Regions from separate parts of the Homo sapiens genome. Here regions 1, 3, 4 and 5 are each linked to region 2. Evidence: promoter capture Hi-C in 16 types of primary human blood cells and fetal thymus (Javierre and others, 2016). All regions are on one chromosome and are shown on one strand. The core of a region is centred on a gene start or on the middle of the fragment in contact, and the rest is flanking DNA. Distances in the headings are between cores, read along the strand shown.

Region 1 (6,049 bases), core at 1,421-3,920, 1.1 Mb before region 2:
AGATTGACAGGCATGCCATATGCGGACCCTGGAATCCCAGCTCCGTGTGGCCACGGGCTGGGCCCTGGCCAGGCCTGCTGTGAGCTGGGCTTGGCATTCAAGGTCTTCATGGCCAGCCCCAAACCGCCTATGTAACCCTGGAAGTCTGCTGACTGACAACTTAGGGTGTGCATGCCGGCAGCCTAAAGCCACACACCAGGGGCTGGAGGGGCTGGCGAGGAGAGTGCAGCCCTCACCCCAGGTGGCTGCCCACAGAGCTCTGAGCAACAGCTGTTTGGGATTGCCTCATATGAAATCCAAATCCAGCCCAACCCCAATCCCTGATCTCCCTCTCCACCTTCTCTTAAAAGACCGCACAACCATGCTGCTCAGTGGAGGAAACCCTCCTGTGTGGCCACAGCCCTGGAGTCCACCCCCTACTCACTCCCGCTACTGCCACCTCCACTCTTCATGCTAGAAAGTGCCAGAAAGCACTAACCATGCTCCAGGCATGGCTGTGAGAGTGCCCATGGCTTACTTCGTTGAATCCCTCCCAACTAGAGGGATATTCTCCCCATTTTACAGATGAGGAAATGGGGCACAGAGAGATGAAGTCGCTCATCAGAAGCCACAAAGAAAGGGGTAACAGAGCTGGAAAACCTCCATGCCTCAGCCCGGTCCACAGCCGCAATCTGCCAGCATCCTCCACACTCATCCACCAAGAGTGTTTTGAGTGTCTTTTGTGAAGTGCCAGCCATATGGAACAGTTTGTCATGCCCCTGACACGATACCCCTCTCATCTGTGGCCAGCCTTTGCCTGCGGTTGCAGCCCAGGCCAGCTAGGGCCTTCTCACCTCTGCCCCAGACTTCAGAGCCATGTATACCTGGCTCTAGTCCGCCGAGCCACGTGAACTGGGCCACATCACTTGTGGGGAAAAGCAGGGCTGGGCGCTAGTCTGCTCTAGCTGGCTGGACCTCTGCGCTCTACCAGGCCCTCTTCAGCAACCCACATACCTCTCCTGGGCCAGGGGCTGGAGCTTTCTACCAGAAGGGAAAAGCCAGTTTTCCCAAATGCTGCAAGATGAGGCGGCCGAGGGTGGAGCCTAGGTACCATTCTCTGCTGCCACTGTCTACACCCCTACCCGATGTGGGTCTGACCTCAGCCCAGGAACTTAGGATGGTTGTACCTCTGAGCCTCTGTTTTCCTATCTAGCAAATGGGAATAGGGCCTTTCAAGAGCTCTCCAGGGTGTGATGGGTGTGAAAGGACTTCGCACACTGTAGAGAACTCTATAGTGCAAGAGGTCATTGCAGCTACTGAAGGTATCACAGAGTAAAGGTTGGAAGGGAGGAGCTGGGGGGTCAAAGAAATCTGCATGACATCTAACCTGCAGGAGTGAGTCTGCCAAGGAGAGATGGGAGTGTGGGCAAGGAGCAGTCCAGACAGGAGGCTCTGCAAATAAAACAGAGTAGACTCCCCATACCCTCCACTGCCCAGCCAGGTGGATTTGGAAAAGCACAAAAAACCAGGCCACCAAGGTAGACAGGGGCAGCGCTGGAAGGTAAATGGGGTGGGTCAGGAGAGCCTTGAACATCACTACGTGACGGAAAGAGTTGCCACTCCACCCCGGCCAAAGCTTCTGTCCTGGACTGCTTGGGATAAGCTAGATGCTGGCACCACTGACCCTCCTCTGCAGGCAGGAGGGTACCATCGCTCATTGGCAGATGAGGCTTATGGAGATGAGGAGGACTTGCCCAAGGTCGTGGGCCTGGTAAGTAACTGGTGGCGCCTGCACGTGAACTCAGTTCTTGGCGCTAAATCCCACAATTGCTACACTTACTCAAGCAGGGTTGGCTTCACTGGCCGTCACACAGGGCCACAAGCTTAGAAGGACCCTACTCTGCTGTCATCATCTTGAAATCCTTTGTAATTCATGAACAAAGGGCTCTGCATTTTCATTTAGCATTGGACCACAGCTAAATTATTTAGCTGGCCCTAATTCTAGGAGACTCTGATGGGTATTGTTGGGTACAGATGCAGGTGCGAAGGGCCATGAATAAACTCTCACTTTTCTGGGACTTTGGTGGAGCTGAGCCTTCTGCTGGGTCTTCCTTGGCCTTTGACATCAACCTAGCAAATTTCTCCTCTTTCCAAGGCCCAGCGTAAATATCACCTCCCGGGGATCCTTCCCAATTTCCTTCCATAGTGGTACCTACCACCCATGCCAAGCAGAACCTTGGCTCCCTGTGCTGTGGTCCCACACCCTGATCCTTTAGCAGGTCACAGAGCCTCCCAGTGGATATGCAAGCAGTGGCTACCTCTCCAAAGGCCTAGGACTCCTCCAAGCCTCTTGGGTACCCCAGAGCTTTCTGCTGGCCAAGTTTCCAAAGGACAATCCTAAGGATACTTTACAAAGGAGTTGTGGAGAGGAAGTTACTAGGTCATGCTAGAAAGCAGACCCCAGAGAATAGCCTATCTTTCTATTTGCAAGAAAATGGCAGGTATGCCTGGGAATACTAGGTCAGAACTAAAGCCCAGATAATCCCAGAAGCCTCCTCGGGAACCCCCTCTAACCTGGAGGGGCTCTCTGGGAAGGAGGGAGGGAAAGGAAAAGGAAGTGTTGAATTGAGGTGGGTGCAGTGTGGTTAATAAGCACCCAATTCTGGCTGTGCTACTTCCTGGCTGAGTGGCCTGCCCTCTCTGAGCCTCAGTTTCCTTATCTGCAAAGTGGGTAATAAATGACCTATCCCTGAGAGGAGATCATGGGAGAAAAGAGCATAAATGTTCACATCTGATGACGTGGATCCGAAGCCCAGCTCCAACACTTATGAGCAGGTGTCCCTGAGAACCTCACCTGCATTTATTGTGCCTCAGTTTCCTCATCTGGAAATTGCTTGGTAAGGCCTTCTCAGGCTTCTCAAGGGGATTTAGAGCACTCATGGAGGCAATGTGCCAGTCTCCTGGCAGGGAGTCAAATGTGGTTGTTGTACCAAAGCTGGGCACTGCAGGCCCCCAACTCCTCACGAGTCAACAGGGAAGTGCAGGTGGGAGAGCGGGAGCAGGGATGACACAGACCCCACCACCTTGGTGGAGGCAGGCAGGGTGGACTGTCATGCCCATGATTCAGAGAGTACCCAGGCCCCAGGGGATGAGAAGCCTGGAGAGGAACAGCCCCCACATCCCCACTTTACCTGTAACCTGTTTTATTCTCATGAGACTACTAGCTTCAATTTGTTGAAGCCCTGCAGAGTGCCCAAAATTGCTCTCGGCAATCTACACAGCAGCCTCTCATCCTTGCGGCCACCGTATAGGAGGCGGACAGGGACGATTCCTGTTTCCAGATGGGGAATGAGTCCTAGAGCGGGCAAGGGCTTGTCCATGGTCAGTCACATGGCTGGCCCTCAAGCCCCAACACCCTCCCCAACATACACACAAACAGAGCTCCAGCTCAGCCTCGGCCCAGGCTGTCCAGAGCCTCCCAGGAGCTGCTGGAAGCTTTTGCCGATGCAGAGCCATCGACCTCTGAACTGCCTCTTCTTGTTGGAATGCACCCTGCGTTGTGTGTGCATGGATATGCAGCCCCGTGTGTCAGAATGCTGTGTGCTTGTGAGAGTTTGTGCCCGTGTATGTGTGTAGTTCCAACACGAGTTTGTGCATGTGTATGTGAGCATGCAAGTGCACGCAAGTGTTATCTGTGTGCATTCATGTGGCATGCAGAAGCGACGTCTGTGTACACGTTTGTGAGGAAGCGCACATTTGCACATCTGTATTATCTATGCACTCACCACCACTCATGTCTGTGTGTGCATGCACATCCTGCCAGGTTCTGCTCCATCTATGCTTCTGTCTCCCCACACTGTAACTCACTTGTGGTCACCTCCCCAGAATTCTCCCCCCAGCCTCTGAACCCTCTCCACGCCACTGTTATGGGGCTTGCCACATCACTGGGATCTTTCTGTTTCTCCACGGAGCAGAGAGTGGGACAGGCCCCTTTCCCTTGCACCGCAGTTGGTACCTAATCCAGGAGTTGGCACACAGTAAGTGTTTAATACAAGCTTAGGAAAACGAACTTGAGGGGCGGAGGGAAAGAAAGCCTTATCCAGCCTACACACCCCTCCTCTAGAGGGGGCCCTGGCTGCCACCTCAGAGGCACCCAGAGGCCAGGCCTGGTCCCTGCCACATCACATCACAAATGGGTCATGACCCCAGACCCACCAGGAGCCTGTCACCTGGTAAAAGCCCCTCTCCCTTTTTCTTAAGTTGGGACAGGATCTGGCACTTCTGAAGACACCCATAATTGCCCTGATCCCCACCCCCAAAAAGAAGCTAGGAGCAAGGCCAGAGGCAGAGTAGGCCAGCGGGCAGTGGCTGGCGCACTGGAGCCACACAGACCTGGACTTGAACCCTAGGCTCAGCCAGGTGTGCCGCCTGGGGCAAGTTACTTCCTGAGTGAGTGACGTTCAGTTTTCTCACATGTACAATGCTGGTGATTACAGCAATGCTCTCATAAGGCTGCTGTGATGCTGAAAGAAGTAATAACTCTATAGTACTTTGCACAGTACCCAGAATACAGTTAAGTGCTTGTCGGGTTAGAGGATATCATTACTGTTATTTCCATGGACTAGAGTAGAAAGCTGAGGCCCTCTAGAAGGAAAGGGCTACCCAAGGCGATACTGGGAGTTGGCAGCAGAATAAAATCCCATGTCCAGGTCCCAAGTCAGGACATTCACCACCCTCCACTGTGTGGCTTTCTTTGAGAGGAAAAGGCCAAGGAACAAATAAAGACTGAGAAAGAAGCCCCTTCCCCTCCCCAGCCCTCTGGGCCCCTGAAACAGCACCATGCACTCTGGGCAGCCCGCACTCCCTGTCTGCCCCACGTCAGCAGGTGCACAGCACCAGAGGGCCAGCCCATCCCACTTACCTGCTCAGGCCTCTGCAGAAGGACCAGGACTCAAGTCTGCTGAGAGCGTCTGGAGGAGGAGGTGGCAGCCCCAGCAGTAGTACGAAATCAGAACACAGCTGCCGTGAGTCCTATGGGAGACAAGAAAGGGGGCAGTGAGCTCCAAGCTCTGACCCTGCGGGCAGCCCCTCACCCACGTCATGGACCTCTAGGTCCTGGCTGCCATCTCCTGGAAGATGGAACTGGCCCACCAACGTGGAGCTACTCGAGACACTGGATACCGTCCTGCCACTGCCAAATAAAGGTCGCAGCTCCTGAACGTCACATTCGAAGCCCCAGCACCGGCCGAGCAGCCCCGCAGCCCTGAAAGCCAGACCACAGCAGCAGCCAAACCTGCCTGCCCACCACTAGGCTCCAGTCAGCCCGGCCTCCCAGAGCCCCTGGCTCCGGCCTTGGCACACGCTGGGTGCCCCGCTCAGAGCTCTTCTCCCCACTTCTCTGTCTTTCAAGGGCCCCTGGCCTTTGAGACTCTGCTCAAGTGCTTCCGTGGAGCCCTCTCTCACCAGCCCCTCCTTGCTTGTTCATCTCCAGTGGGCTGTGCGCCTGGCCAACCTTGCCTCCTCCCGCTTCCCACAGGACACTCTCCCGCTCCAGGCCCAGCTCCTGGACATTGGGAGTGAAGTCTAGTTTCTCTCTGTCCTCTGAACTGGTTAACAAGGACCACAGAGATTCCTTGATGGATGAATGGTGCCGTGAAAGTGTGCAGTGAACAAACAGAAAAACATGGGCTGACTGAAGTCAGGAGGCCTCCCCCCATCCCTTCCTCTATTCGATTCTAGAATATGGGGTCAGATTGATGAGAAGAAAGGGACTTGGTGAGGTTGATACTTTTCCTTGTCATTTTACAAATGAGGAAACTGAGGCCCTGAGAGGGAAAGGGTTCCTCCCATGGTGAAAGGCAAGGCTGGAGTGAAGTCCAAATCTCCTCAGGGATGGAGGCTGTGTGGCTGTCTCCCCCCAGTTCCTGCATCTGCAGACCCCTGGCCTCCCTGACTGTTGAGGGTCAGGTCAACCATGAAAGGCAGCTGCTGGGAAAAGGAGAAGGCAATAGGAGGCCTCTGGGGTGGAAAAAGTGTAGCAGGAAAGCTCATGCTCAGAAAAGAGGGATCA
Region 2 (5,956 bases), core at 1,776-4,275:
TTAGTGCAGACGAGGTGTCCAAGGTGCAGGCTTTGCGGGCAGCTTTCCTATTTTCTTTTTTTTTTTTTCCTGAGACAGAGTCTAGCTCTTGTCACCCAGGTTGGAGAGCAATGGCTTCATCGCGGCTCACTGCAACCTCGACCTCCCGGATTCAAGCGATTCTCCTGGCTCAGCTTCCAGAGTAACTAAAATTACAGGCCTGCGCCACAATGCCCAGCTAATTTTTGTATTTTTAGGAGAGACGGGGTTTCACCATGTTGGCCAGGCTGGTCTCCAACTCCTGACCGCAAGTGATCCGCCCCCGCCTCGGCCTCTCAAAGTGCTGGGATTATAGGCGTGAGCCACCGTCCCCGGCCGACTATTTTTCTTTTTTTTCGTTTTTTGTTTTTTTTTTTTTTTTTGAGACCGCATCTCGCTCTGTCACCCAGGCTGGAGTGCAGTGGCGGGATCTCGGGTCACTGCAACATCCGCCTCCCAAGTTCAAGCGATTCTTCTGCCTCAGCCTCCCGAGGTGACCAACTATCCTTATTCTTAAGAAAATAGTCAGCCGGCTGGGCACGGTGGCTCATGCCTGTAATCCCAGCACTCTGGAAGGCCGAGGCAGGCAGATCACGAGGTCAGGAGTTCAAGACCAGCCTAGCCAATATGGTGAAACCCCGTCTCTACTAAAAATACAAAAATTAGCCAGGCATGGTGGTGCGCACCTGTAGTCCCAGCTACTCGGGAGGCTGAGGCAGAAGAATATTTATTGAGTGATTGTAATGTGCCTGTTACATTCTAATTACTTTTACCTTCATTTTGCTATTTAACCTTCCCATTGACTCTAAGAAATAGGATACATATTACTCACCCATGTTATAAATGGGGAAACTAACACACAATAAGATTAAATAACTTTCCCAAGTTCACACTTTATATACGTGTATATATACACGTATGTGTATATATACACATATATCTATATCTATATCTATATATATATATATATATATTTTTTTTTTTTTTTTTTTTGAGGCAGAGTCTTGCTCTGTTGCCCAGGCTGGAGTGCAGTGGCACAATCTTGGCTCACTGCAACCTCCGCCTCCCGGATTTAAGCGATTCTCCTGCCTTAGCCTCCTGAGTTGCTGGAATTACAGGAATGCGCCACCACACCAGGCTAATTTTTGTATTTTTTAGTAGAGACGGAGTTTCACCATATTGGTCAGGCTGGTCTCAAATTCCTGACCTCATGATCTGCCCACCTCGGCCTCCCAAAGTGCTGAGATTACAGGCGTGAGCCACCGCGCCCGGCCTGCACAACTTTATTTTTTATTTTTTTTTATTTTTGAGATGGAGTTTCACTCTTGTCGCCCAGGCTGCAGTGCAATGGCATGGTCTCGGCTCACTGCAACCTCCACCTCCCAGCTTCAAGCGATTCTCCTGCCTCAGCCTCCCGAGTACCTGGGATTACAGGCGCACACCACCAACCCCAGCTAATTTTTGTATTTTTAGTAGAGATGGGGTTTCACCATGTTGACCAGGCTGGTCCCGAACTCCTGACCTCAGGTGATCCGCCCACCTTGGCCTCCCAAAGTGCTAGGATTACAGGCGTGAGCCACCACGCCTGGCTGCCTACACAACTTTAAATGGTGAAAGCTAGACTCCCATGATGGCACTGTGATTTCATAACTTTTGCTCTTAACCTCTAGATAAGTCACACACGATCCAACCCTTGTTGGTATAATATTGTAAACATCAGAGCCGGGTGTGGTGGCTCACACCTGTAATCCTATCACTTTGGGAGACTGAGGCGGGCGGATCACGAGGTCAGGGATTCGAGACCAGCCTGGCCAACATAGTAAAACCCCGTCTCTACTAAAAATACAAAAATTAGCTGGGCGTGGTGGCGGGCGCTTGTAGTCCCAGCTACTCGGGAGGCTGAGCCAGGAGAATCGCTTGAACCCGGGAGGCGGAGGTTGCGGTGAGCCGAGATTTCGCCACTGCACTCCAGTCTAGGCGACAGAGCGAGACTCCGTCTCAAAAAAAAAAAAAAAAAAAAAACAAAAAAAACCCATAATGTTGACTATATATATATATATATATATATATATATAGTCAACATTATTTCATGATTAAGTGATGGAGTACCGAAATGAGTTAGAAAAACCTGATATGCCTCGTTTGTCTGTGACATTGTGTTTTGCTAGTGAGGATCCATGGCGTCTGAAAATGAGATAGCGTCCCTTCTTAAAAATTGAAAGTTGTTAAACACTTTTGTTAAGTTCTGTTTTGAGTTTCTCACAAATAATGAGGACTTAGTTCTAATTCTAAGCGCTAAGCCCTGTGGTGATGTGATTTCCTTGCTAGGCTCATGCACTAATATATCACACTAGGATCACCTCCCACAAGTTCTCACAGACTGTAGACAACTTATTTCAAGACATGAATGATCTTTACTTTCCATTCTCCCTTTTCTTCTGTAGATTACCATGGCTGTTTTCACTCTAACAGATTTTCAACTGTTTTTGTAATCAATAATGTAAGTTTAATTCTTCCCCCCTCCCTCCAAATAACTTCATGAACTGGAGGCACATGTGCGCCCATATTTTCCGCTCTGTTTTCCTTTGTTGGTCCTCCACAGATAGTGCCCTCTGTTGGATGGGCCGGTTCATTTTAGCTTCCACCTTCCCTTAAAACAATTAGAAGCTCTTAATTTAGATGGTACTGATGTTAATGATGATGATTTTCCATTTTATGCAAGTTTTGGCCCTCTGCTTGTCTAAAAGCCTTGAGGCAAAGAGTTATATGCAGTTTCTCTGCGGGTGTCTGATTACGTGGAGAAATTGACCAGAAATGGGATTTTTAAAATACAGCACACGCCTCGGTGCGGCTTCCAGTAAGCGCCACCAGGTGACGGTGCGGGGAAAGGGAAAAAAAAAAAAAAAAAAGGCATGCCGGAAGTCTCTCTTGACAGACAGACGCGCGGGCGAGTAGCGGAAGAGGAAGCGGACACGTGGGACACTCTACGGTGGCCGAGAGGATGCCGCAGATGTGTTAGCGGCGAGTCCAGAAGCAGCCCCAGGAGGTGCTGGGGGCATCGTTTCTCTAATCTGGCCTCCCGAGTGCCAAGGAGGCGTCCCGGCAGCGGTCATCATGGTGAAGGAGCAGTTCCGGGAGACGGATGTGGCCAAGAAAATGTAAGACGGAGTAAGAGTGGCCAAAGGGCTGAGAAATAGGGCAAGGGGTCCGAGGTCAGCGGTCCCGGGTCTTGCAGGGTCAGAGATGGGGTGCAATGGGAAGGGGAGGGCCAGTAGTCCATAGGTGTGACCAGCGCCCAGAACTACCAGCGTTGGTCAAAGAGCATTGGTCAGGCTGAGGGGATTTCAGCACCTCGAGAGGTCCCTGGACTTGGGCGGAGAAGTCGGAGTGGCCTGAGCCTTAATGATTTGTGCACCCTGGGCCAAAGCTCGCATTCTCCTGAAGTCATACAATGATCCCTGTTCTTCAGCGAACTATCCCCTGCTGCAGCGAGGGGAGCAATCTGGGGCGGGGACTGTCTCTAATTCTGTCAGCCGCAGAGCGTCTGACACGGAGGCAGTAGTTGCTTACCAAAAGGATGGGGTTGCCCACTAGAAAGCTGTACCACAGGCCGACGGATGGCAGTGTCAGAAATAAAGCTGCTATCCGGACTTTTGCCTTCAGAAATACGTTATTAGGCGGTGGCTCCTTCTTAGAGTTCTCGGTAAGAAAGTGAATCCAGCCGGGCGCGGTGGCTTACTCCTGTAATCCCAGCACTTTAGGAGGCCGAAGCGGGTGAATCTCCTGAGCTCAGGAGTTTGAGACTAGCCTGGGCAACGTGGCGAAACCCCGTCTCTATCAAAAATACAAAAATTAGCAGGCGTGGTGGCGCGCCCTTGTGGTCCCAGCTACTCGGGAGGCTGAGGCCGAAAAATCACTTGAGCCTGGGAGGCAGAGGTTGCAGTGGGCAACCTCCTGCATTCCACCCTGAGTGACAGAGTGAGACGGTGTCTCAAAAAAAAAAGTGAATTCATCATTCTTACAGCAGACACTGAGGAGGATACTGCGCGTTATTCCCAGTGTTGGACGTTAAAGATACGGTCTGAATAAAACTTTTACTGCCTAATCTAGTTGGAGAAGGTACACAAGTCAACACTGGGTACGACAAGTGCAATGACAAGGGTAGGTCCAGGGGGTTTTGAGAGCACATAATGGGTCCAGGCAAAAGAAAGCAGACCAAACTGCTTTTTTCAAGGAGCAGACCTGAGGGAGAGAACACAGGTGATCAGAAGGAAGCAGAAGACTTGAAGCTGTGTTAAGAAGTCATCTTGTAGGCAGTGAGGAACCTTTGAAGGATTTTCAACAGGAGAGTATCTTGATAAGAGTTCTCCTTCTGGAAAATCTCTTGATTCATGGTGGAAAGAATTAGAGGTCGAGAGACCTTGAGACGGATATACAGAATGCCTTGCTTGGGCAGCTGTGTGGATGGTTGCCATTCACTAGAACAGGTGTCTTACCTAGGTGAATGCAGCATTCTCCCATGTGGTAGCTCTACATCGACACTGGCCCTTCACACCCACCTGTACACCTGCGCCCAGTCAGATATAATACATTCTCACAAAACAGAGAAAGTGCTTCTGTCAAAGTGCAAATTAAGGGTATTGTCAATTAAAATCCTCTAGCAGAGGCCAGGAGTGGTGGCTCACGTCTGTAATCCCAGCACTTTGGGAGGCCATGGCAGGCAGATCATGAGGTCAGAAGTTCAAGACCAGACTGGCCAATATGGTAAAACCTCATCTCTACTAAAAATACAAAAATTAGCTGGGTGCGGTGGCGCATGCCTGTATGCCTGTAACCCCAGCTACTTGGGAGTCTGAGGCAGGAGAATCGCTTGAACCCAGGAGGCAGAGGTTGCAGTGAGCTGAGATCGCACCACTGCACTCCAGCCTGGGTGACAGAGCAAGACTCTGTCTCAGGGAAAAAAAAAAATCCTCTAGCAGCTTTCCATTGTGTGGGCCATCACGCCTAGCAAATTTTTTGTATTTTTAGTAGAGACAGGGTTTCACCATGTTAGCCAGGATGGTCTCAATCTCCTTGCCTCGTGATCCACCCACCTTGGCCTCCCAAAGTGCTGGGATTACAGGCATGAGCCACCGCACCCGGCTGCATTTATGTTATTTAAATAAATTCCCTACCAAAGTTCCCAAGCCCTCATGCTTTAGCTCCTGCATGCTTCACTGACTTTATCTTGTACTATTAGCTTTCTATGCTCCAGTATATACTGATTTCATTTGGTTCCTTGAAAATGCCAAGCTTGTGCCAGTCCCAGGACCCTGGCCCTAGTCATTCTCTCCACTTCAGATGCTCTTCCTTCTGATTGTCAGTTTTACAGTGAGGCTTTCTGACCATGCAACGTAAAGTAATTCCTCAGACTCCACTGCTTACATCACTTCTGCATCTGTTCACATTTGTATATTCGTTTGTTTGTGGTCTGTCTTTCCCACCCTGACCTGTGAGCTCTTTGTTGGCAAGGACCTTGTCTGTCTTAGCTAATCTGTATCCTCAGCCTGTAGGATGGTGCCTGGCACATAGGAAATAGTCAATTTGTTGGAAGAATGAATGAAGGGACAGACATGGGAGAAAAAGTATTGAGGTCTGTTTTCAATGTGTGGGGTTTGAAGTGCCTATGAGATATCTAGGTGGAACTGTCCAGGAGGAGGTGTCTATACAGATGTCCAGTTGGGTAGCAGTAGCTGGCCTATAGAGATAGATTTGATAGACATCAACATGTATGTGAGTGGCATGATCACTCAGGAGAATGTGTAGGATGAGAAGATAAGAGGATGAAGGTTGTAATGCTAGGTGGTACAGTGCACCAATATTTAAGGGATAGCAGTAGAAGAAAAGACCTCAAAAGAGACTGTACAAGGAGCAGCCAGAGAAGGGAAGAAGAAAACTC
Region 3 (5,614 bases), core at 8-2,507, 1.1 Mb before region 2:
CTAAGCTGCTACCCCTGCTGATACTGAGGTGGGCTTGGGCTTACTTGGGGAGGTGGGTCATGGGTCAGAGAGCACCCACCAGGAGGGAGGAAGAGGATGGGGTTGGGAGGGTGGTGGGACAGCCTGCCCCTCAGCACAGCCCCATCCCTGCTTCTGGCCCAGCTCCCTGAGCAGAGCTGAGAGACGGAGGCATGCTCCGTCGCCCGGCTTCTGGGAGATGAGAGAAGGGGCTCCTTTCCAGGCAGACAGGGGTGGATGGGGAGGTTTTGTGTTATCACCCCCCAAGCCTGGCTGTCTTCACAGGGCACACATTCAACCCACCCCAAACCCTTTATCCCATGGGATGCTCATTGCTGGGCAGAGCGTCTGCCTCTCCCTGTTTTTCTACAGATGAGACCCAGAGTGGCTGAGTGACTTGCCCAGGTGCACCAGCAGGTTGGTGGAGGATCCCAGACCAAGAGCCCCAGCCTCCTGGCTCCCAGGCCTAGTCCCACTGTGAGGTTTCTCCTGCTAGGTCCCCAAGGGTCACAGGCTTTGTCTGAGAGGAGATAAGTCATTAGCATGTGTGGGGGGTGCAGGACGGGCGTGGGCCCAGAGCTGCCACCACGGGGAGGCCCAGGGAGGGGGTCAGCGCAGGCCAGAGGCAGGGCGGCCCGAGGTCGGGCTTCCTTTCTCAAGAGGGCAGGATTCCTGGCAGCAGCTCTCATGGGAAATAGGAGAAGTGCCAGCCGTAGAGAATACGGGGTGGGGCAAAGGTGGTGTCTGGGCAGGGCTTCCTGTTGGGTGGGCGGGTGGCCACTCGCCGAGGCCTAGTGACCTGCACGGCTGCGGCCCGGGGCCAGGCCAGGGTTGGGTTTCGCCTCATCCCTGGCTCAGGCCCAGGCCACCCTGAGCCCCATCCTCCAGCCCCGCCCTGGCTTCCTGTCCCACTGGCCCCACCCAGCCCAGGGGAGAGGGAGGGCCGAGCAAGCCTCCTCAGAAGCACCAATGCTTTCTGGGGGCTGGAGTGGGCAGGCCACGCTGGCCTGCTTAGTGGCCTTTGGCCTCTTACCTCTAGGCCTCCCACCGTTCATTTTCCAGTGTGAGGCCTCGACAAAAGTGCTGCTGGGTTTTCTTCCCAGGAGGGCACACTTCAGACACAGCTGAGCGGGGGCCCCTGATTGAATCCCTGCCTTTCCAAGTCAGCAGACAGCAGTGTCCCCTGGGAGAAGTCATGCCCAAGAGACCAGGATGAGAGGAAGAGTGAACCAAGGCCAAGTTCAGGCTTCGAATGCAGAACTTCCTGGAGGGCGAGCTCTTGCAGAAGGCGTGCCACCCCACGGGGCCACGCAGCCCCACATGAGGACAACGTGATGTCAACCACAGGCACAGCGCCTAGAGAAAGACCCCTTCACCCCACCCTGACTTGGCATGCCTGAACCCCTGAAGTGTCTGGAGGAGTCTGGGTGGGAGGGGAGCTTGGCCCAGGGGCTGCAAGGCTACCCATGGCCTCCAGGTGAATCCAGCCCATTCCCTGTGGCCTCAGGAACTGGAGGCTCACCTGTCCACAGGTTGGGGGTATGGTGGGAGTGCAGAGGTTGGCAGCCCGACCCAGTGAGGGCAGAGATCTGAACAGAGGCCCTCAGCCCTCTCCAGTCCCCTCTCCTGCCCATTCATGCTCTCCCAGGGCAGAGGGACTCAGAAAGCAAATAGGCCAGAGAGCAAGGAGGACTCTTCCAGCTGGCCGACAGCCCACCAGGGACAAAAGCCTCTTGGCTTAGTGCTGGGGATGAACACAGATGGGAGGGGGTGTGGGCCTGCCTGGGGCCCAGCCTTGCTCGAGATTACCCCAGGGACAGGGACAGAGATAGGGACAGAGCAGGGATCCAGGTCTCCTGCCTGTACCAAAGGCAGCCCAAGGGCCTCCTCATGAAGGCAAACTCACAGCAGTCCCTCCTGGCTCCGGGAGCTCCTGAGTGGTGAGAAGGTGGGTCAGCCCAGCTTAGGCAGGAACTGACTTTAGCCACACCCTGGCTGCCAGCGCAGGCCACTGATGACTTGTCCAGATTACCCCAATCAAACAGGCCCTGGCGGGGCCACGTACAGACCCAGCTTGATGCTCTGCCTGCAGGGAGGAAAGCCCGGGAGGGACTCAATTGGAAACTGCCAAGGGCCTAAAGTCTGTGGCCCTAAGACAAGCAGGGTGGAAGACAGAAGTCAGCGTCAGCCTGGTGGGAGGCCAGGACCCCATGTCCCAGGAGGAACTACAAGACGGCAGTAGTAAGCCTCGTGACCCCAGAGATATGCAAGCTGAGGCTGGGGACATACAGGCCTAGGCAGCATTCTGGGATGCTGACCCAGCAGCTTTATTAAAAACCCCGGCCCAGAATCCACATTCAGTTGTAGGTGGCATGATGGCGGATCTGCGTCACCCTCAGCCCTGGCCACCCAGCTCCACCCCTTTTCCGGACAGGCGTTTCCTAGAACAGCCTGAGCACACGAGCCTGTGGGACTCTTCCAGATTGAATACCCTAGACCTCATCACAACAGAGACAAGGTCTGATGATGCTCTGTGTGGCCTTGATGCTGGCTCTCTACACCCCCTTGTCTCAGGCACCTGGTGGGCTCTGCCGTTGGCCTATCCTGGGGAAGTACGCCTAAGCTTCCTCAGAACCCAGGGGAGCCTGTGGGGTCAGCCATGCCCTGCCTCCTAGCCAAGAGCCAGCTCTCTCCTAGGCCTTACCTGGGCCTGGCCCTGGGCCCACCCTGGAATGTTGCTGGATTCCAGTTCGGCCGTGATCATGCAGGGTGAGGGATGTATCTTTTGTGGAGCGTGGGCCCCATACAGACTTGGCTGCCAGGAAATGTTTGTCAAAGGAAGGAAAGAGGGAAGAAGCAGGGAGGAGGTGGACAAACAGACACATGAATGCAGGTGGGCTCTCAGAAGCATGGCCCCAAAAAGCCACCACAGCCCTCCTCCTCCAGGCCCCCAGAGATGGTGTCATCTATGCAAGACACAGTATGCAGGCTGACAAACCTCGATGAAGGCCTGGGGAGGCCCCACTCTGCAGCTGCCACTTCCCCTGGTGCTCTGCTCCCCATGTGGGCTAGGAGAAGGCCCCCAGGTGTCCGAGCCCAGGGCCTCTGTGTTCTGCCCACATGCACACATTTGCTTTGGAAGCCCAGGGTCTGGCTCACACCTCCCTAGAGGAAGGGGACACTCTCCCTGGCTAGAAACACCTGCTTGGTCCATGAGAGGCTCGGCGGTGCCTCTCACTGCTCTTCCTGAGCCCTGCAACAATGTAGGGGTTGCATCCTCCTGGAATGGCAGTGGGGTGGGAAATGGCCAGCTCATGACAAGATCACAGGGGTTTTGCAATGAAAGGTGATGCTGCCCATCCAATGGGAAGAAAATATGTCACAGAGGCGAGGGTTTGACGAAGTTTCCAGAAGGTCTGTGTTCTGACAACCCCTATCCCTGCCTAGCCCAGGTCCTGGCACACAGTAGGTGCTAATAATTCAGTGGCCTGATGGATGCACACGGGAGGCCTGGCTTCCACACTCCTGCCACGGAGGCCAGGGCTCTAAAGCACACTCCAGGGGCCATACACATGGTGGTTGTGCCCATGTGTGTCCCTTTCTCTGGTGAGGACTCTGTCTTTCTCGGCTCCCCCTGGTCAGAAGGTGCCCACCCTCTCTATTTAGGGCTGAGAGAGTTCTCTGTTATCAAGCTCTGTGCCTTTTCTTGACAGATGGGTTGGGGCAGGGAGGTCAGTCGTCCAGGGAGGGCAGAGGATCAGAACAAGGCCATTCCCCAGCCCAGGCCTCCCCATACCAGATTCTGAGGCCCAAGAGCTCTAGGACCCAGCTCGGGGCTCCCTGATGCCCATGGCGATCCTCGCTGCCACCACCCACACCAATGTGGCCCTTCTCCCTGGCTCTGTGTCACGGCCTCCTGGCTGCAGCTGGCCTGAACTGCTTACTTGGACAAATAGCGAGAGAAACCAGCCACGTGATGGCTAAGGTTTCCTTGGCCAGGGACAGGGATATACACACACACACACACACACACACACACGTACACTACACACACGCACAGCCACTTGTGGGTCAGGTAGTCATGTGGCCCAGGCTTCTGTGTCTCTGAAGGACAAGTGACCGGCTGCCCTTCTTCACCCAGAAGAATGCCCTCCCCAAGCACTTGTTTTCTGCTTCCTGGATGTGCCAGGGGTTTGCTGGGTGGGAAGCCCAGCAGAGTCGGGGCGGAAGCGGGAGCAGAGGGAGGGGGCAGAGCACCCGCCCAGCCCCAGCCCTGCCTGTGTCTGGTGTTTTCCTTCCGCCCTCCCCACCCAGAGGGCAGATGTCTGCTGGGAAACTGTGGCCACCCAGCCGTTCCCTGACTACAGGGACAATCCCCAAACTCAGGGAGAATCCCAAAGCCCAACGTTGGGGCCACACAGGAGGGGAGCCAAGGCTCAGAGAGAAGTCCCTGTGATAAATGGCAGAGCTGCCAACATGCTGCACCTGGACCAGTGGTTTTGTAGCTGGAGTCCATGGTATATTATAGCCTTTGGGGCATCTAGGGGGTGAGGGAGGGTAGAAGAAGGGGGTGTCTAGTCCAACTCAGCAGGAGCGGCTCTGCCTTTGGTCTGTTGCTTGGGAAAGGTCTGCGGGCCAGAGTCTTGAGCACTTTTCCAGCATTGGGGATCTGTGTCTCCGCTACTACCCCAGGGTGGCAGGCTTGTCCTCACAGCCTGAGATGGGCCCACTAAGACAGAAGGACGCCACATCTCTTGACAGGCAGAGCGGAGACCCTGCTCTAGGGGAGGAAGGCTGAGGGGTGGAGAGTGGGGAGCGGGAAATGCCAGCTCTATGGGGGTCTGCAGCCAGCTCCCACCCTTCCCTGGCCTCAGGCCTGACCCCCAGGACTCCAGAAACTCACTGCAGATGCATCTCAGGAAGGCCGCAAAAAATGAAAGGCATGGCCAAGAGTTCCCAAATAAAAGCTAATTCCTGGGCTGGGTGTGGCAGCTCACATCTATAATCCCAGCACATTGAGAGGCTGGGATGGGAGGACTGCTTGAGCCCAGGAGTTTGAGACCAGCCTGGGCAACATAGTGAGACCTTGTCTCTAATAAAAATTTTAAAAATTAGCCAGGCATGCTGGAATGCATCTATAGTCCCAGGTATTCAGAAGGCTGAGGTGGGAGGGTCAGTTGAGCCTGGGAGGTCAAGGCTGCAGTGAGCCACTGCACTCCACCCTGGGTGACAAAGCAAGACCTTGTCTCTTAAGAAAGTAAAAAGGCTAATTCTGGCCAAGCCCCTCCCTCCGCTAAAGCCCTTCACATAGGTTATCTCACTGACTTCTCACAATAACTCCATGACTCTGTGTTCTTCACCAATCCCCCACCCCACTGTCTCAGGGCTGCAGAATGAAGCCTCGGGAAGGGCTTTACTGTGGAGGCAGGTAAAATTATCACCCCATTTTATGGATGCAGCACAGAAATCAATGTGAACTAACCGGAAGGTCACACAGTTAACAAGGGGTGGGGTGGGATTTGAACCCGGAGACCCCAACCCTAGACTCTGTGTTCTTCACCAATCCCCCACCCCAACAACTCAGGGCTGCACAGGG
Region 4 (5,376 bases), core at 320-2,819, 1.0 Mb before region 2:
ACTTGCACACACCAGGAAAGGGTTTCAGGACTCTTCCCAGAGGTCTCTGTGCCCTGCTGATCCTTGGCTAGGTCGCTGAGTGGTTAGAGCTGTGCACTGTGCTTCCCAGCGGCGGTCAAGGTCCACCGGGGAGTAGGGGTAGGAGTTTGGGTGGGACCCCTGTGGACAGGGCAAGGTCCAGGCACCTGGCATCTCCTCCTTTGTCCTGAGCCTAGCTGGCTCTTCCTAGTGTGCTCTCACCTAGGCTGACAAAGGTGACTCTCAGCAGGTGACTCCTAGGGTGGGGTGAGAAGGCCACCTCCCTGCTTCCCCATACACAGAGGAAGTGAAGGCAGGACCAAGTCAGTGGGTCATTTGCTCTGCAAAGGACAAAGGTCAGCTCCTGGAGGGCTGGCTGGAGGGGAGAGGGGAGGTATGGGAAGCTACCATCCTCTTGGCTTAAACAGGTCCCGGCAGATGAGAAACCTTGTACCCTCCCTAGATGGTTTCTGTTTTGTTTTATTTATTTATTTTTTTAGGCAGAGTCCTGCTCTGTCATCCAGGCTGGAGTGCAGTGGTGCAATCTTGGCTCACTGCAACCTCCACCTCATGGGTTCAAGTGTTTCTCATGCCTCAACCTCTCGAGTAGCTGGGACTACAAGCGTGCACCACCATCATGCCGAGATAATTTTTGTATCTTTAGCAGAGATGCGGTTTCACTACTTTGACCAGGCTGGTGTCAAACTCCTGACCTCATGATCCACCTGCCTAGGCCTCCCAGAGTGCTGAGATTACAGGCATGAGCCACTGTGCCCGGCCCTGTTTTACTTCTCTCAAATTCACAATGCAACCACCCTGTAAAGACACATGCTGCTGGGCAGGGGCTCTAATGCCAGACCAGGAGTGTTCCACACTCCCCTGGCTGCAGAGGATCTGGGAGTCTGGGAATGCCACTGAAAACTCCCCATCCTTCGTCCTCACCCTGAGCACTCAGAAGTGAACCCCACCCCCAAGGTTCAGCTGGGCCTCTCATCAGACCCGAAGAGCATTTATTAATGAGCTCAAGAGTGGCTAAGGGGGGCTGTGCCAGGCCAACAGCACACACTCAATACATGTTTCATGAGCTAATGGACTGGCGGAGATGGGGTTCCAGGCCCAGATCGGTCACCCATTCGCTGCTGACCTTGGATGAGACCAAGTGTTTCTTTCCATGGTTCAGTTTCCTGGGCTAGGAAAGGAAAGGCCAGACCAGGTAACGCAACCAGTTCCCACTAATTTTATGCTACAAGCTTAGGAATTCAAACCCCAGAGTCAGAGAGGTTCACAGTGGAAGGGGCTTTCCAGATCTTTCCCCGAAGCTCCCGAGCTAAGAGGAGGGCAGCACAGGACCTAAGTGGGAAGATCCAAGGCACACCGTCCCCATCCTCCCTGCCAGTCATCCCCTGCGGATTGGGAAGTGAGAATGGGGTGCGGGGAGAGAGGACAGATCTCCATTTAAGCCAGACACCAAAACAGAACTTTCGAAGAAAGAGCTGGGGAAAGTACAGTGTATGTATTTTAACACACACCCCCATCAGAACAGCTTGGCCATTTCCTGATCTGCATTGAATCAGAGGCTCCAAGAGGGCAAGTATCTGGCTAAGAGTGGTGGGGGAGGACGGAGAGAGCTCTCAGGTCTCAGGACCCTGGGCCAGGCAGCCGGAGTCCTGGCAGAAGCCCTGGCCAGCAGGGCCAGTGTGTGCATGTGTGTGCAGGTGTGCATGCGTTTGCATGTGTGCAGGTGTGCATGTGTGCATGTGTGTGCATGTGTGTGCAGCTGTGTGCAGGTGTGCACACACACAGGGCTGGGGGAATATAAGACAGGTAACTGCCAACTGGGGAACAAGCTTGGGGACAAATGAAGCCCCCCAAGCCCTATCTCTAGGGGCAGAAGTCTCTGGAGGGTTCACTAGTCCCTGGAAATTCCAGACTTTCCCTGAAGTGCCTAGGGACAAATATCCCAAAGTCAGACCACTAGTCTTTGATGCTCCACTGCTACCAGCCATCAAGGTCCTGAGCCAGTCTCTGTCCCTCTGTGGGCCTAAGTTTCCCCATCTGAACAGTGAAGGGTTTGAGCTGGGTGATCTCAAAGGGCTATGTCCACTCTGACAGTCTGCGATACTCAGTTTCTACAGAAAAACACGACACCCACCATCACTCAAGCCCCCATCCTCAAGACCTAAGAAGGCAGTCCCCAGGCCCTCAGCTGGCTGTCTAGGGGTGGAGCTGGGGCTGGGGCAGAGCACAGTCCCCCCACCGTCTGTCCTCAACAGCCTGCCACAGCCGAAACCTTCAAGTGGTTACAATTACAGCCAGACTAACAGGATTAGGGGAGCATTGAAATCTAAGAAATCTAATTAGCTCAGACACCCCAGCCTCCCCCAGCACAATCCTGCAGTAACTCCGGCAGCTGGGCCTGACAGGCAGGGCCTGGGGCCCTCCCAAGCCACAGTCATTACCTGCACAGGTGTGCCAGGCTGGGCCAGGCTTCCTGGGGAGGTGCCAGCTCAGCCTGCCCGGCTGCTCCCTGGCCTGAACCCCACTAGCTACAGCCTTGTCCTAGGGTGGCACTCAGCTGAGCTACAGAAAACCAGGCCCAAGGGTGGAGGCTGCAAGGGGCAGAAAGAACCTAAGGTCTCACACGGAGTGGGTGCCCCACATAGCCTGGGGACTGACTCAGCCCGAAGAGGGACTACAGAAACCATAGGAACCCAAGGAAGAGCACTGGGCTTCATGGGGACCCGGGGGGCTGGAAACACCTCTGCCTCCTACTCCAGAGCCGGAGAAGGGCATGAAGCCCCATGTATAGACCTGTGTGCCCTGGGCAGTCAAGGCAGGATTTGTGTCTCGAAGCAAGCTCTGGCTGTAAGACACTGTGCCAAAAGAAAGGGACACAGCTACTGGGGGCATGGACCATGTGCTGCCATATGGGAGGGGGAAGACAGGTGAGGCCCATCTGTGACCCTTCCTGAGAATGGCTCCTCCTTCACCTCATTCCCCCAGCACCCAGTTTTGGAGCCTATCCTGACTCTGCACCGTGTCCGAGCCTGGCTGGAGCGCTCACTCAGTGGACTGGAAAGGAGGCAGCGCAGGGGTTGGTATCGGTAAGGCCTGAGGTTCAGTCCTAACTTTGCCACCAGTTGTTTGACCGCTCTGAACCTTGGTTTTCTGCTCTGTTAAATGGGGATAATTCCAAATAGTAACTAGCTTACACTGTTGTTATTGGGGATAAACAAAGATGGAAAAAGCTTCTAAATCCACCAAGTACCATACAAAGGAGAGGGGCTGTGGTTATTACTGTCATCACGCGCCCGTGGCAGGCAGCCAGCTGGTAGCGGTTAATTATTTATTTGGACTGATCTTCCTGCCGGCACTGGACTGTGGGCTCCTGAGGAACAGGAACTGTCTTCCACAGTTCTGGTCTCTCCCAGGACACAGTCTTTATCCACAGGGTGGACACTCACAGTCAACACCTGTGGCACCCATGCCGGGCCCGACCCAACCCCAGCCCTCATCACGCACCCCCTTCCTTCTCATACCCCGCTCCAAGGAAAGTGCCCAGAGGCAAACCTGGCACACAAAGGCAGATGACAGTGAGCACCCCCAGGCAGACCCTTCCCCCTTCTGCACCCCCCACAACAGGTCATTCCCAATAAGGGCTAGAAGCAGCCACTTGAATGTGTCCCCCTACCTAGGGGCCTGCCTAGGCACTGGTCTTGAACCCAGGATCATTCAGGAAAGAACGAGTCTATGGTCTGGAGGGCCCCCCAGCATCTCAAGCCCAGAGTGGGGTCAGGAGGTGTGGATTTGCAGAAGGCATGTAGCAGAACATGTTAACACTCACAACTGCCCACTGAAGGCAGAGGCTTCCAGGAGGTAATGAGTACCCTGTCCTGTGGGGGGCATGCAAGCCAAGACTGGACAATCAGCTGCCAGGGAAGTAGGTCTGGATGAGAGCAGCTTCAGCAAAATGCTTCTAGCACTTGCAATCTAAACCCTTTGTGTTCTACCCATTCTGTACCCAGAGCCTCCCAGGCCTTCAAGGGACACATGCCTAGGGGACTCATGCCCACATCTGCCTCATTCTCCCAGCAACCAAGTGGGATCGGAGGAGTTCTGCCCTCAGACCCATTTTACAGATCAGGAGACTAAGGTCCAGCACAGGAGAGTTACTGGCCCAACACAGATAGCAAGCAACAGCCTCCTGACACCTTGGTCCTCTCGCCCATCTCCTCCGGTAATAGGGAGACCCTCTCAATCATGATGGGGTCTAGCCTCTCCCCAGAGCCTATGCCTAGGACTGCTTTTCTCAGCCTTCTCCCTTCATCCTCTCTAAAGGCAGGGCCCAACCTCAGAACGCCCCGGAGCTTACAGCCAGGTGGATTGCTGCCTCCCCATCCTGAGGGACTCTTAAGGACAAAGAGCACTCCCCCAAAGGGCATGAGCAGAGAGCACTATATCCTGCTAAGAGGTCAGAGCTGTCGCCAGGCAAGGCTGCAGCAGTGTCCTGGGTAATCGTGGCAGCCTGGCCTTTGTTGTCCACACAAAATCTAAGGAGCCTCATAAAGACCAGGCAGCAGTGACAGGGGCTGGGCCAGGGCCCTGGGGAGCAAAGTTATGAATGAAAATGTAGAGGACCCAGCCACGAACCAGCAGGCCCTGCTTCCTGGTCCCACGACCAAGTGCCTACAGAAGCTTCTGGAAATTAATTGGTTGGTGCCTGAATTTCTTACAACAATGCCTCACCCTGAGGCCAGGGTCATGGCCACTCGTTGGACCCTCAGGGTCAGTGGCTTTATACGCAGGTATTCTTGTGACAAAACTCTCAGGATGCAGCAGGCCTCAAAGTGCCTTCCTTCCTAAATCCCTTCACCCCTCCCGCCATCAGGAAGAAACAGGAAAAAAAGTGAAGTCTGCAGCTCTTCTCAGTTGGGTCCTTGCCCCTGCAATTTTCTGGAATGAGTCAAGCATGGACACCTGTCCTATGTTGGAGGCATATCTATGGGGGCCAGGGATGGAGACATCGTTGTTATTGTGGCTAGGGAAGTGAGTGTGCGTGCGCGCGTGCGTGAGGGAGAAACTGGTTCTGTCGCCAAACCCCGCAGTCTCTGGACCTTTCTTCATTTTGCCCCTGGCTGTGAGAGGAACAAGAACCCTCCTCCCCCCTTTGCTTAGGAGGGAAAAGGGACATTTTGTCCCCACAAAGAAGCCAGCAACCCTTTTCTGCATAGACAAGGCTATTTATTCATAAGTCCAGCAATTTCTTATTCCCAACTCTTCTCAGTAAGCCCTACCCAAAATGCCAAATCCACCTCTTGAATCCACTCCCTACTGCTCCCTTCTCCTCCCCCCACCCAG
Region 5 (5,927 bases), core at 1,847-4,346, 1.0 Mb before region 2:
CAAGCAAGACCTTGTCTCAAAAAAAAAAAAAAAAAAGATTAGCCAGGTGTGGTGGCACATGCCTATAGTCTCAGCTACTCCAGAGGCTAAGGCAGGAGGATCACTTGGGCCCAGGAGTTCCAGCCTGCAGTGAGGTATGATCCCACCACTGCAATTGTGGTGTGGGAGCAGAGAGAGCTAGAGTGAACCAGAGGGATAGGCAGGGATGGATTTGCAGAGGACCTTGAATGGCAGTCTAAGAGGTTGCACATTATCCTGGAGAAGCTGTGGCTAATAATTATTATCATAACTATAATGTCAATAACATTAACTGATTTATTTTCATGTACCATGCACTGCCCTAAGCTCTTTTAATGGATTATCTTATTTATTCCTTCAGCTAGCTCATGAGATACTGCAATGTTATTAGGAATTACCCTGTGTTTTTTAAAGCATTTTACATAATTATCTCATTTAATTCTCACAATAACACTATGTGTTAGCAATTAGAATTATGTCTGTTTTATGGATCAGAAAAACTGAGGCATAGAGAAGCTAAATGACTTATAGTCACCCAGAGAATAAGTGGCAATGAGGGCTGATTTTCTCTTCTTCCCAAATACTCTTTTAACATTATTATAATTATATTCTTACAATAAAAAAGAGCTGCCTTTGGGCCACCAGATGTCCATGATGCTCTGTTACCTGTAGACACTGTGAGTGTTAGCGTCTGTGGCCATGGTGCCAGAAGGGCAAGTGGAAACTATGACGGTTTAAAAACAGTTCCCTAGGCCAGGCGTGGTGGCTCACTCATGTAATCCCAGCACTTTGGGAGGCCGAGGTGGGTGAATCACCCGATGTCAGGAGTTGGAGACCAGCCTGGCCAACATGGTGAAACCCCATCTCTATTAAAAATACAAAAATTAGCTGGGCATGGAGGCACATGCCTGTGATCCCAGCTACTCAGGAGGCTGAGGCAGGAGAATCACTTGAACCCAGGAGGCGGAGGTTGCAGTGGACTGAGATCATGCCACTGCACTGCAGCCTGGGCCAAAGCGCAAGACTCCATCTCAAAAACAAACAAACAAACACACACAACAAAAAAAACAAAAACCAGTTCTCCGCATTCTTTGACACTCATCCCATCAAAAGGTGGACTTCAATTCCTCTCCTCTTTGATATAGGTTGGCTGTAGTGACTTGCTTCCCATGAGCAGAATGTGTCAGAAGTGATGGTGAATGATGTGGTTAGTTCTAAGAAGGCAACTCGAGGCCAGGTTTGGTGGCTCACGCCTGTAATCCCAGCACTTTGGGAGGCCTAAGTGAGGGGGAAGATCCCTTGAGCTCAGGAGTTTGAGACTAGCCTAGGCAACATGGCAAGACCCTGTCTCTACAAAAAGTTTAAAAATTAGCCAAGCGTAGTGATGCATGGCTGTAGTCCCAAATACTTGAGAGGTTGAGGTGTGAGGATCACTTGAGCCTGGGAGGTTGAGGCTACAGTGAGCTGTGCTTGCACCACTGCACTCCAGCCTGGGCAACAGAGTGAGACCTTGCCTGTCTCTAAAGACAAGAACAATGCAACTCAGCTGCCACCTGACTCTTCCTCTTTGACATGCACCTTGGGAGCCCTGATCTGTTTTCTGTTCCTATAGTTTTGCCTTTTCTAGAATGTCGCATAAGTGGACTCATCCAGCCTGCAGTCTTTGTGTCTGGCATCTTTTACTTGGCCTATTGCTTTTGAGATTTGCCCCTGTGGCTGTGTGTGTTGGTAGTTGGGTCTTTTTTATTTCTGAATAGTATTGTTAATCCATTCATTTGTGATTTGTATGCCCACCCCAGGGCTGGGCACAGAATGGGTGCTCCCCAAATGGGTGTTGAGTGGCTGAGCAGGGGAATGGGAGGTGAAGGCAGAGACTCCTGTAGAAATCTGTTCAAATCAGTCTTTCATGGGGATTGGAGGAGGCAAGGTGATGACGTTTATCATTCATTAATTCACAAATATTTATTGAGTGCCTACCCATGCCAGATGCCATGCTAGGCCATGATAAATGGTTCCTGATTACCCAGAGCTACCCATTCAGCTGAGAAGACAAATAACTCACCAAGCGGTTGACATCAAGGGAGACGTGTCCTGAAGGAAGGGAAAGCAGGGCAGGGCAAGGGTGTGGTTGGGTAGACAGCAGGGCAGCCACTCTAGGATGGTGTAGGGGGCCAGATTAGGCTTCCCTGGGGAAGTCAAGGCCTGCAGGAGGTGGTGTCTGCTGAACCATGGAGGAGGGCAGTGTGTCCTGGCAAAAAAGGCAGAGGTGTGAAGACCCATGTGTGAGTGTGCAGCAGGTTAGAGGAATGAGTCTGGTGTGACTCTAGGGAGTGGTCAGATTTGGGGCTGAGAGGTGGTCCTAGGACAGATGTGGAGAGCACCTAAGTCACATCGACAAGTGTGGCTTTTGTTCTAGAGGCAGCAGGATCTGTGGAAGGACTCTGAGTTGGAAAGTGATGTAATTAGGGTCTCTGCCTCCAAGTGGAGAAAGGACTGAGTGCACAGGTGTGGGTGGGGGTCCAGCGTGGGATGGCAGTAGCCTGGGAACAGGTGACAGCAGTAGGAACAATAGATTTCAGACCAATTTAGAGGCTGACTTGCCGGGATCTGGTGACTGATTTTAGGTGGGGTGCAGAGAGAAAAGAGACTGAATCCCAATTTGGGACTCAGGCAACAGAATAGATGGCAGTGCCAATCTTCGGAAGAGGAGTGAGGGAGGAGGGGCAGGGAGTGTGGTGATGATGAGTACATGTGGGAACTGTGGAGGCTGAAGTGATTGCAAGATGATCAAATGCAAAGTCTAGCAGGCAGTTGAACATTTTGGCCTGGAGAGGAAATGTGGGCTGAACGTAGGGACTTGGGAGATGTTGGTGTCTAACAGGGAGTGGATGAGCTTGCCTGGAAATGAGTGGAAATGGTGCAGGTCACAGGGCTCGGGCCAGAGACCCGGGGATCCCCAGGATTGAAAGAGCAGGAACAGGGGTACATAGTGGCCTGAGAGAAATGGCACGGAGAAGTAGAGGTGAGGACCGAGAGGAGCACTGGGGAAAGTATTGAAAGGAGAGGCAGCGGACCCCAGGAAGCAGGCAAATCAGATCAACCACAGGACTCAGGTACAGCCAGGCCCTGGTGATCTTGGAGAGTACCCTCTTGGAGGAGTGGCGGAAGGGGAGCCAGTGGGGGAGTGAGTGAAGGCTGGAGCTGCTGAGGAACACGGGGATCAAGCAGAACTTCAGACGAGAGACTTGGGCATGTCTAAGAGCTGACGGGAAGAGCTGGTACAGAGGGGCATTCTGGCCTCAAACCTAGGGCCTTTGGACAACAAACATTTACAGTAGTCCCACCTCATCCCTGGGGCATACGTTCCAAAACCCCAGTGGATGCCTGAAACCATGGATTGTACCAAACCCTATGTACACTATATTTTTTCTTAAACATACACACCTATGATAAAGTTTAATTTAAAACTTAGACATAGTTGCCCAGTCGCAGTGGCTCACGCTTATAATCCTAGCACTTTGGGAGGCCAAGACGGGGAGATCACTTGAAGCCAGGAGTTTGAGACCAGCCTGGGTAACATGGTGAAACCCCGTCTCTACTAAAAATGCAAAAATTAGCCGGGTGTGGTGGTGGGTGCCTGTAGTCCCAGCTACCTGGGAGGCTGAGGCATGAGAATCACTTGAACCTAGGAGGTGGAGGTTGCAGCGAGCCAAGATCTCACCACTGAACTCCAGCTTGGGTGACAGAGCTAGACTCTGTTCAAAAAAAAAAAAAACAAAAAAACAAAGCAAAATAGCACAAAAAATAGTAGGCACAATAAGAGATTAATGATAGTAAGTAATAATAAAATAGATCAATAATAATCATATATGTTTATTAAAGTTATGTGAATGTGATCTCTCTCTCAAAATGCCTTATTGTCCTGTGTCACCCTTCTTGTGATGATGTGAGATGATAAGATGCCTATGTGATGAGATGAGGGGAGGTGAATGATGTAAACCGGTGTGCCCAATCTTTTGGCTTTCCTGGGCCACACTGGAGGAAGAATTGTCCTGGGCCACACACAGAATATACTAACAATAGCTGAGGAGATGACAAAAAATTGCAAAAAAAGTCTCATTTTTCTTTCTTTTTTCTTTTTTTTTTTTTTTGAGATGGAGTTTCACTCTCGTTGCCTAGGCTGGAGTGCAATGGCGCGATCTCAGCTCACCGCAATCTCCGCCTCCCGGGTTCAAGCGATTCTCCTGCCTCAGCCTCCTGAGTAGCTGGCATTACAGGCATGCGCTGCCATGCCCAGCTAATTATGTATTTTTAGTAGAGACGGGGTTTCTCCATATTGGTCAGGCTGGTCTCAAGCTCCCGACCTCAGGTGATCTGCCCGCCTCAGCCTCCCAAAGTGCTGGGATTACAGGTGTGAGCCACCATGCCAGGCCAAAGTCTCATAATGTTTTAAGAAAGTTTATGAAGTTGTGTTGAGCCGCATTAGAAGCATCCTGGGGCACATGCAGCCTGTGGGGCACGGATTGGACAAGCTCAATGTAGGCATTTTGATGTAGCATTAGGTTTCTATCGACCTTGAACAGGAACACTGTAATACCCTGATAGCTGATCTGATAACCAAGAAGGCTACTAAGAGATGAAGGAGTGGGGAGTGTAGACATCTTGTGCTGGATAAAGGGATGATTCATCTTCTGGGCAGGATGAAGTGGGACAGTGCAATATTTCATCTCGATATGCAGAATGGTGTGCAATTAAAAACTTATGAATTGTTTATTTCTGGAATTTTCCCATTTAATATTATGAGACCACGGTTGAACACAAGCTGTGGGTCAGTGGGGACTACTGTGTTATCCCTCACAGTTCTTGGTTGACTGGGTTCAGCTGGCCACTTCTTCTGGTTCGCATGGCGTATGCTGGGGCTGCTGTCATCTAAGGGTTTGACCAGAGCATAAACACAGCCCATTCAGATGGTGGGGGCTGATGCTGGACGCTGGTTGGGGGCTTGGCTGGGGCTGCCTCCATGAGGACTTTCTACCTTGATTAGGCTCCTCACAGCCAAACAGCTGGATTCTAAGAAGAGTGTTTGAAATGCTCCAAAACAAGCTATAGACTGGGACGGGTGGCTCATGCTTATAATCCCAGCGTTTGGGGAGGCCAAGGTGGGAAGATTGCTTGAGCCTGGGGGTTCAAGACCAGCCTGGGTAACATAGTGAGACCCCCGTCTCTACAAATAAATAAAAAATTTTTAAAAAAATTAGCCAGGCATGGTAGTCACGCCTATAGTCCTACCTACCAGGGAGGCTGAGGTGGGAGGTTTACTTGAGCCCAGGAGTTTGAGGCTGCAGTAGCTATGACTGTACTACTGCACTCCAACCTGGGTGACAGAGTGAGACTCTATCTCTAAACAAAACAAAAACAAGCTACACATATCTTAAGATCCAGTCTTGGAAGTGACAGCATCACTGCCACCATATTCTACAGGTCAAAGTGAGTCACAGGCCAGCCCGAAATCAAGAAGTGGAGAAATAGACCTCATCTTTTGGTGAGAAGCGCTGCAAAGCATTTGGGTAATCTTTAATGCAGCACAGGACAGGGTGCACCTACAAGAGAATCACTGACGGATCCACTGAGAAAATGGCAGAGCTAGGGGTCCAGGGCACTGCTGGGATTTGCGTTAGAGAAAAGGGTTTGGAATGGGCTTCCAGAAGGATAGAGTCACGTTGCATTTTATCAAAAGATCTGAACAGGCCAACCAACCACAAAGTTCCTGGTTGTATAAACCTCTTTGTACATTTCCATCTCCTTGTACAGTAGGTAGGTAGAGACAGCCTCTAATAACAATATATTTCATTGAGTGCTAATATATAGCCTTAATCAGTTCTCCCAAGGGGCCTATGAGGTCAATGTTG

What was found. Contacts are between HindIII fragments. The CHiCAGO score rates a contact against its expected background, and 5 or more counts as called.
Region 1: a fragment that was not itself captured here is called in contact with the fragment with the promoter of POLR3A in region 2 in 4 of 17 cell types (fetal thymus, naive CD4 T cells, total CD4 T cells and 1 more); the score reaches 7.2 in fetal thymus.
Region 3: a fragment that was not itself captured here is called in contact with the fragment with the promoter of POLR3A in region 2 in 9 of 17 cell types (total CD4 T cells, total CD8 T cells, naive CD8 T cells and 6 more); the score reaches 10.3 in total CD4 T cells.
Region 4: a fragment that was not itself captured here is called in contact with the fragment with the promoter of POLR3A in region 2 in 6 of 17 cell types (naive CD4 T cells, total CD4 T cells, activated CD4 T cells and 3 more); the score reaches 12.0 in naive CD4 T cells.
Region 5: a contact is called between a fragment that was not itself captured here and the fragment with the promoter of POLR3A in region 2, in 2 of 17 cell types (naive CD8 T cells and activated CD4 T cells). The highest score is 8.6, in naive CD8 T cells.

The regions. Positions count from the first base shown.
Region 1 is chr10:79,117,876-79,123,924 of GRCh38, reverse strand. ZMIZ1 (zinc finger MIZ-type containing 1) reads right to left here. Exons shown (of 25, transcript NM_020338.4): 2 at 4,901-5,010. Among named protein-coding and RNA genes, the nearest start is that of ZMIZ1, 52 kb to the right of the region's middle. The HindIII fragment of the contact is 1,612 bases long and covers 1,865-3,476 here.
Region 2 is chr10:78,026,584-78,032,539 of GRCh38, reverse strand. POLR3A (RNA polymerase III subunit A) reads left to right here and starts at 3,025. Exons shown (of 31, transcript NM_007055.4): 1 at 3,025-3,176. The coding sequence starts at 3,133. RefSeq lists an enhancer at 2,856-3,105. The HindIII fragment of the contact is 13,008 bases long and covers 1-5,312 here.
Region 3 is chr10:79,145,389-79,151,002 of GRCh38, reverse strand. The region is part of intron 3 of ZMIZ1 (zinc finger MIZ-type containing 1); the gene reads right to left. Among named protein-coding and RNA genes, the nearest start is that of ZMIZ1, 79 kb to the right of the region's middle. RefSeq lists silencers at 801-880, 941-1,000 and enhancers at 4,091-4,180, 5,147-5,614. The HindIII fragment of the contact is 2,773 bases long and covers 1-2,643 here.
Region 4 is chr10:79,071,976-79,077,351 of GRCh38, reverse strand. All of the region lies in intron 1 of ZMIZ1 (zinc finger MIZ-type containing 1), which reads right to left. Among named protein-coding and RNA genes, the nearest start is that of ZMIZ1, 5.7 kb to the right of the region's middle. RefSeq lists an enhancer at 4,567-5,070. The HindIII fragment of the contact is 597 bases long and covers 1,271-1,867 here.
Region 5 is chr10:79,031,488-79,037,414 of GRCh38, reverse strand. All of the region lies in intron 5 of ZMIZ1-AS1 (ZMIZ1 antisense RNA 1), which reads left to right. Among named protein-coding and RNA genes, the nearest start is that of ZMIZ1-AS1, 33 kb to the left of the region's middle. The HindIII fragment of the contact is 7,741 bases long and covers 1-5,927 here.